Linked DNA regions of Homo sapiens: region 2 is linked to region 1. The links are contacts of gene promoters, found by promoter capture Hi-C in blood cells and fetal thymus (Javierre and others, 2016). All regions are on one chromosome and are shown on one strand. Each heading gives the region's core, a stretch centred on a gene start or on the middle of the fragment in contact. The rest is flanking DNA. Distances are from core to core; before and after follow the strand shown. Region 1 holds the start of DNAH7 (dynein axonemal heavy chain 7). Region 2 has its middle 120 kb from the start of NABP1.

The links. Contacts are between HindIII fragments. The CHiCAGO score rates a contact against its expected background, and 5 or more counts as called.
Region 2: a contact is called between a fragment that was not itself captured here and the fragment with the promoter of DNAH7 in region 1, in 1 of 17 cell types (total B cells). The highest score is 5.3, in total B cells.

The regions. Positions count from the first base shown.
Region 1 is chr2:196,066,380-196,070,599 of GRCh38, forward strand. DNAH7 (dynein axonemal heavy chain 7) reads right to left here and starts at 2,458. Exons shown (of 65, transcript NM_018897.3): 1 at 2,318-2,458. The coding sequence starts at 2,332. RefSeq lists enhancers at 1,750-1,799, 2,280-2,369. The HindIII fragment of the contact is 14,129 bases long and covers 1-4,220 here.
Region 2 is chr2:191,554,341-191,558,560 of GRCh38, forward strand. No RefSeq gene overlaps it. Among named protein-coding and RNA genes, the nearest start is that of NABP1, 120 kb to the right of the region's middle. The HindIII fragment of the contact is 3,115 bases long and covers 889-4,003 here.

The sequences.
Region 1 (4,220 bases), core at 1,208-3,707:
AAACATGATGAAGGAAAATGGAATGAGCATCACATCATATAAACACAAATTACTTGATTCCATAACTAGAAAAAGTGCTGGGGTAGAAAAAGACTGACAGCTTTTTCCTCTTCTCTGCCCACAATCTGTAGTATATCTGTGGGGAGCTTCCTGGTCTTCGGATATTTGTGCCTTTAAACCTCTCAAAGTTTTTCAACTGATACTAAAAATGCCTTTTAAAGTTTTAACTCATTTTAAAAATGAAATGAGCAATTGCAAAAGATTTACATTTCTTCTAAATGCCTAATTTAAGAGAAAAGCCCAGACTGCTATTCCTGAAAAATTCCATGTCACTCTCAACCTTCCACTAATGAGATGAATATGTTAAAATCTCCTTCAGCAAATACGATTTTACCACCTGCTCACTTTCTCAAACTGAATGAATATACAAGTAAATGTCACATAAAAAATGGCATTTCCAGAAGTTTAATCCATTCTGTTTGTTTTAGGTTAAAACATAAAAACTTTCATCCTTCCAAAGGAAAGCTACACTCTAAATTAGCATAAATGAAATTCTCAAGATTAGTTTTTAAATTACAAATCAACCAAAACAGTGATAGAGGGCCCTCTGCTGTTCAAAAATAGTAAGTGGAAAATGGAAATCATGTCCATTCTTTTAAGATCCCGCTGCCTCTTCAATAAATCACAACCTTTCTGGAGGGGGAGTGAGAGACTAGGGTGTCATTTCCCAACATCACTTTTATAAAGATGAAGCAAAATTTAGAACTTAACGGCTGGTGGGTTTTTTGTGGATACTTTTTAGTTGTAGATGGGTAAGTTAGGGGAATTGTGAAAAACAGCTATTGAGAAATACCATTGGAAATGTGGTAAAAGTGTATTTTAAACTCTAACAACGTAGGATATGGTTCAAGATCTGGCCGAAGACTAACTTGGGCAACAAGCAAAGAAGCTGCTCAATATATAATAATGGTGACAGTAACAAATGTTATTTTTTAAATCTGATTACATTAATATCATGTAGAAAAAAACTAGTAAGATCTATTAAACAATTGCTCAGTGTTTTTGGTTACTTGTATCTGAACTTTTTGTTTTTTGCTTGTCATTTACTCTTTTATTATTAATACCAATACTAATTATACTTTAGCATATGAATCAGTGTCCATTTCTTAGTTCTTAAATTATACTTATTTTTTTAAAAAGGTTCAAACCAAATTTTCTTGAGCATTTCAGGTATTAATTACTTATTTGATGAACTAACCAATCAGGATCTTCACATAGTTCTGTTAGTAATGTACAACTCAATGGATAGGAGACTAAATCCGTTTTAATACTGTTTCCACAATAAATTCTAACACTACCGAAAAAAGCATTATAAAGCAATAAAAAAGAAATAATTACCGTTTAATATTGTTTAAAAGCTAAATGAAATTTGCAGGCTTAAAAACAACTGTTTTTCTTCCAGGAGGTTTATAGAGTCCTTTTCCTTATTCATCACTACGTAGAAAGCTAGAGTTATTTTCTAGCTAGCCAGAATAATGACCACGTTTAATATCTTCCCATTCTGTGCTGATATTAAGACGACTGACCATTGTTCTGCCTTTCTGTTAGTTGCTCTTAAGTTCAATAAAGAAAGAATTCTTAGAAGAAAAAGGAGAGAAAGACAGAAAGGAAAAAAACGAGAAAAAAAGAGAAAGAAAAGCAGCTATTGCAAAGTGCATCTTTTATCACATACCATGGAATATCATCTTAAGAAGTGCCATATGTCACTTACCAAGGCCTTTCATGTATAGTATAATATTGTATAGTTATGGTATGGCATGGTATCTAATTTGAAATTGACAACAACCTCAAAAAGAAGAAAAGTTGTTCTGATGTTTCCCCCGCTCTGCATAAGAGGTGGGAGAACTAAGGCTTACAAAGACTAAGAGATTTGTCCAAAGTCACATGGCTAGGAGTTGGCTTCGATTCCCACCTTAGAACCCAAACCCGCTGCAACTCCTCGCAGAGCCGCCTCTCACCCAAGCACACCGCCATTAGCACTCTGGGGGTGCTCTGGGCTGTGGCTCCCCCTGCTGGCGCGCCGCTAGGCGGCTAGGTTTGGTTGTTATGACGACCAAGGGCAAACAGCTGGGAAGGGAACTTATAAGGGCATTCACGGAAAGCGCTCAGTAACCCAGGCCACAAGTGGGGTGAAGGAAGCTGTACACCGCGGAGTCACAGCTGGGGAGTTCGCTAGGCAGGAGGGGCTTCCACCACTTCCGAAACGCCTGGGAAGCGTCGCGGCGGCGGCGAGCCTGGCAAAGAGCAGCCCTCTCACCTGCTCACTGCTCATGGCTGCGAGGACGCGCTGGCCTCACCGGTGCTTCTGGGTTGCTCCTGCCCGCGGAACCCCTAGGACGATAGAGGCAGGGCCCCGGGACTTGCAGCGGTCTCAGCTCCCTCCGCACCAGAGCCGTCTAGCGTCCGGGCAGCGTTTGTTGCTAAGCAACGGGCCCGCGCAGGTTCCATTTCCGGTCATCTGTTCCTTCTGGGGCTGGACCCGGAAGCTGGCGCGCGGTCCCGCAAGAGGAGCTTTCTGGGGCGCTGCTGCCAGTGTTGTGAGGTCTAAGGTGTGCGTTGAATAACCAAAGACACTGGGTGGGTCTCCTCCAATATCCTCTGATTACTGAAGTAGATCCTCACACTTCCGCACCCTCCTTCTAAATAAGCCGGATGCCCAGGACTGCTGCCTTAACCCCTCAGAGGTCTCGGAGAAACACTGGAATGAAATGATTACAGATTTCATTGCTAATGTGGGCGAGTGGAGTAATGCGAGGCAGGATCCAGTAAACACCTTTCATTATTCATGTGCTTCCAACCCCTGTGCTGTTGACTCTTCCCACACTCCAGAAAACTATCCTTTGGAAGAATACCAGTAAAGGAACCTTCCAACAATTCTTGAAACCAACATTCACAGATGGTTTACTACATGAAAAGTGGTGTGCTAAGCACAAATGTGACCAAGACATCCATTCGCCACAGGCTGGGGGGTGTCCAAGCCAAGCACTTACCGTGTAGTGGAGACGGTGCTAAGAATGGCAGTCCTCAGTGAGAACATAAAGCACCAACTAATTTTCTCATGGAGGGCATGGAAGGGATGTGGAAGCTGAAATGTGAAGGAAGAAGAAATGCCAGGCAAAGAATGCCGGGCAAAAAGCAGGTCACATACAAAGGCCTGAGACAAGAGAGCATAGCTATTGGAAGCAGTGAAAATGGTTCTGAGAGGTCGATGAGTAGGTTTGGATAAAGGGGATTGGAGCCAGTCTAGAGAAGAAGCTGAGGTGATAAGCAGGTGATATATCTTAAAGGACCCTATAAAAGGGCAGGAGTTTGGATGTCAAAAGCAACTGACCTCCACTGAAAAGTTTTATGCTAAGAAATGGCAGAATTCCATCCTGAAATTAACAAGGAACCCCAAGGGGTCATAAATAGCCAAAACAATCTTGAAATTAAAGAACAAAGTTGGAGTACTCACACTTCTTGATTTCAGAACTTACTACAAGACTATAGTGACCTTAACAATTTATTTTCAACAAATGATGCTGGGGAAACTAAATGTCCATATGCGGAAAAAAATGCAGTTGGACCTTTACCTAAAAACATCATATACAAAATTATCTCAAAATTGATCAAAGATGTAACTGTAAGGTCTTAAACTATAAAACTCTTAGAAGAAAACTTAGAAGAATCGCTTCACGACATTGGATTTGGCAGTGATTTCTTGGACATGACACCAAAACGACAAGGAAAAAATAGACAATTCGGCTGCATCAGAATAAAAAACCTTTGTGCATCAAAGAATACTCTCATCAGTAAAAAGACAATCCACACAGGCCGGGTGTGTTGGCTTACGCTTGTAATCCCAGCACTTTGGGAGGCCGAGGCAGGCAGATCACGAGGTCAGGAGATCGAGACCATCCCGCCTAACATGGTGAAACCCTGTCTCTACTAAAAACACACACAGAAAATTAGCCGGGTGTGGTGGTGGGCACCTGTAGTCCCAACTACTCGGGAGGCTGAGGCAGGAGAATGGCATGAACCCAGGAGGCGGAGGTTGCAGTGAGCCGACATCACACCACTGCACTCCAGCCTGGGCGACACAGTGATACTCCGTCTCAAAAAAAAAAAAAAAAAAGTCCACAGAATGGAAGGAGATATTTGCAAATCTGATGAGGGATTAA
Region 2 (4,220 bases), core at 1,196-3,695, 4.5 Mb before region 1:
TCATAAATCAGGTAGCATCAGACTTCAGGTGGCTCGAGGCTCCACCAAGAGGGCAAGAGAAGGCTTTAAAAGGGTTAATTGGTGGCTCCTGAGTTTTAAAGCTGAAGTTGCATTTTCCTAGAATATGACCATTGATACTTGGGTTTCGGTTTGCTTCTGTAGGAATCCAGGGCCCTGGAGCTGGCTCAGCCTAATGGCCTCTCCATTAATTATCTTAGTTACTTATACCTAGAGTGAATCATTTTATCAAAAAAAATTTTCTGAACAGCTTTTGATTTGAGGAAGAACAAGTAGAATAAATGTCCTGAGGACTAGGGAAGCCAAAGAACGTGTGGAGGAGAGGCACAGGAAAGAATCTCAGAGCCTTGAAGTCGGCATTTGCCAACTTTACATTTTTGTTCAAGGTCAGTCTTGACCTTGATTTACATTCCCAAAGATGGAAACAAACCAGTGTGTGTTCTTCACCTGTCACCGACACTCGTTTAGAAAATAATTGGGGTCGTCCCGGCGCAGTGGCTCGTGCCTGTAATCCCAGCACTTTGAGAGGCTGAGGCAAGAGGATCGCTTGAGCCTGGGAGTTCGAGACCAGCCTGGACAACATACTGAGATCCCTGTCTCTACTAAAAATACAAAAATTAGCCAGGCGTGGTGGCGCGTGCCTGTAATCCCAACTACTGGGGTGGCTGAGGCACGAGAATCGCTTGAATCTGGGAGGCAGAGGTTGCCGTGAGCTGAGATTGTGCCCCTGTACTCCAGCCTGGGTGACAAAGCGAGACCCTGTCTCAAAAAAAAAAAAAAAAAAGAAAAGAAAAGAAAACAAGTGGGGGCGTCCTCACTTTCCCAGGCTCCCTCTAATTGTGTGTGGGGGTTGGGTGTTTAGCACTCACAAGCTTCCGCGAAATGCTGCCTCAAATTATCTTGTAGCCACCAGGTGGCAGCAGCAATCCACTTTTTGGTCTAACCTGGGAGAGGCTGAACTAGGATGGTTCTCCTTTAATTAGCGTACTGGCCATAGAATCGTGGACGTTTAGACATGAAAGAACCTTTCTCAAAAGTTCTGACAACTACAGATGTTTAAACGGAGAAAAAATAACAAACATATTAAGAACACTTCGTTGTTCACACAATAAATTTCATCTATTGAAGGGAAGAAAGGAAGTTGTAACATCTACAATGTGCTGGGCACTTTGTATGTTATCTCATTTGATTATCAGTACAACCTTGTGGGATGGATACCAATGCCTCTAATTTACCGTGGGGGAAACTCAAGTTGGGATAGGTTCAGACTTGTCTGATGTCTCAGAGAAGTAGGTAACAGAGGCATTTAAAAGTATCAGACACTAGTCAAAAGTCTTGGAGTTGAACCACAGCATGCTTTGGTGTGTGTGGGGTGGGATTGATCAGCCAAATGGCAGGATTTTGATGGTGAGGGAATATGGTTATTCTTTGAGGACCCTCTGTTTTATGGCCCAGTACTTGTGCTAGTCACAAAAAAGTAAGAGGATCAAGGGTGCCTTCTAAATTTGAACCATCTTGAATAATCAGGAGGAGCTTCTTGAAATTAGAGGAGTCTTAATCAGAGAGAGAATCATGCTCTGAAGAGGGGACAGAATGCTTATTTCTCTTTTTTCTTTTGAGACAGGGTCTCACTCTGTGGTCCAGGCCAGAGTGCAGTGGCGTGATCGTGGCTCACTGCAGCTTTGAGCTTCTGGGTTCAAGTGATCTTCCTACTTCAGCCTCCCAAGTAGCTGGGACAACAGGCATGCACCATCACGCCCAACTTATTTTTGTATTCCTTGTAGAGTCAGGGTTTCTCTGTGTTGTCCTGGCTGGTCTTGAACTCTTAGGCTCAAGCGATCCTCCTGCCTCAGCCCCTCAAGCAGTGGGATTACAGGCGTGAGCCACTGTGCCAAGCCAGAACACTTATTTTTCTAAGATAATATGAACCTGAAGTAAATGACAAATTTTAAGTCATGTAAAGTGTCAGGGGAAATATTTATTAGTGGGACGTTGCTCTATACTTGTTGCCTTCATAATTAAATAATACACTGAAGTCTCTACTTTTTAATAGTATCTCTTCCTTCTCATTAGACGAGATGAAGAAATTATCTTCTCACACTTTCCTGCACCTCTTTTCTCCATAATTTCCCAATTTGGGCTGGGTAAACTCTATTTTTATGTTGTCAAGGTTAGTAATTTACGTTCAGTCCTATAACTGTAAATAAGAGCTTTGGTGGTATAATTAAACAAAGTATTTGGTGAAGAACTGAGCGGTGTGGTTGGTCAGCAGGAAAGACATGTCATCCTCTGTGACTAACTTCATGTCCTTATAAGGACAATCATCAAGGTCAAATGCATCCTGTTCTCTAACATGCTCAAAATTAGGCAATGTTTGGTTTATTTGTGTGTGTACATGGCTTTCTTGCAAACATTTTTGTTTCTTTAAAGGTTGTATTGGCCTTACCTTATTTCAATTGTTAGAGGAAAATAGGCTCATTTGTCATATCACTAGGATATGCCCTCTTGACCATACTATTTATTGAATGGTGCAGTGTGGACTCCTTATGGCTTTGCTCTCCATCTGTCACGGTGGGCTTTGTTTGCATTGCACTGCTTGGCTGGCTTCCCTCTTTGTTATATCTTTGTAAGTTTCCTCCTTAATTGGATTTGTCTATATGTTTTGTTGAACATCCTTAATAATTTCAGAAATAGTGGTCAGGGAGTATATTTTCCAAAGGTTGGCATGACTAAGATGTCTTCTTGTTATTCTCCTTTGATTGAAATTTCATGATGAAAATGTTCCTTTAATTTCTCTCAATAGCTCATAGTAATTCCTTATTTTTATCTAGTACAAATCACTAGAATTAATGTTAGTTGTGTCTTGCATAATTTCTATTAAGATTATTTTAGTACTATTTCAATATTATTTTTAAATAAAACAGATTATATGAGTAAATTATGGTCTTAAGTGAATCTTTCTGGCTGTTTCCAGTAAAAAGTAACCCTCTCTCATTTCCTTTACACCTTCGTAATAACAACTAGACATTTTCTTCTCATATATTCTATTGTATTTCTGTGAAACCTTCTGGAAAGGTTTTTAAAGCAGTATTTCTGTCATCATTTTGTGAGTCCCATTTTCACAACTCACTTAGAAGCGAAATGTTTTATGAGAAACTGTGTGGGGCCTAGAATGAGTAAAGCACTAGTCTTTGAGCATGATTCAGAAAATTAAGTCTTCCAGTAGACTTAAAGCTATTGTAAGGCCCATCTGTGTGCCTAAGGAAAGACTCCTTAACTCACTGAGAAAATGCCTATGAGCGTAAGAAAACTCCTTTTCTCCTCTATAAAATAAAGAAAATGGTTAAAGTTTTACATGTATGACCCGATCCTTTGCTGTTTACAGCATAGAAATCTGTGATTCTCCTGCTGATAGAATGAAAGTTACTTTTAAATGGTTAGAATTGAAAAATGCTCAGATCAAAATATTTGCTGAATTTTCCTCTCAATAATACCTGGGTGGATATGTAATTATTTCTTGGCCTGCTGGGTGAAGTAGCCCACAGGGTTTTGTCTGTCTTCACACATACGGAGAGGACTGTACCGTGGTCAGAACGTGGCTCCGAGGGCCTGACTGCATGGGTTCACATCCTGCCTCTGCTACTACCTAGCTGAGTCACACTGGGCCATTCTGCTTAAACTCCCTCCAACTCTGGTGTCCCCTGAGCCTCAGATGTCCCCTCTGTGAAATGAAGATAACACTAGCACTTAGGCTGTGAGGGAATTGTAAAGGTTAGGTGAGTTAGCCTCTGCAGGGAGCTAAACACATTGCCAGGCCCCTGACAAGCCTCTGGGATGTCTGCTAGCATCATTATCATTCAGTCATGAATTAGGCGTACATAGCTCACCCTCAAGGAACCCTTGAGGCATATTCATGTCTAAAAAAATGAGGTCATTTTGGGTTGATGGGGAAGGAGCCTCCGGAAGAGATAGGGTTCCTTTTCAAAGCTTTGCGGGGTGACAGTGGACAGGATGCATCGACAATGACAACAAATGCTGTTGATGGGCTCTAAGAGATGTATGGGAACGGGGCATGAGTGAAAATATGAACCTACCCAAGTGTGTGTGTGACCAGTAAAGAGAGCGGAACATTAGAGATGAGAAAGGGAAATCCTTATAGAACATTCAAAAGATACAAAAAACAGTAACAGTACACCAATGCT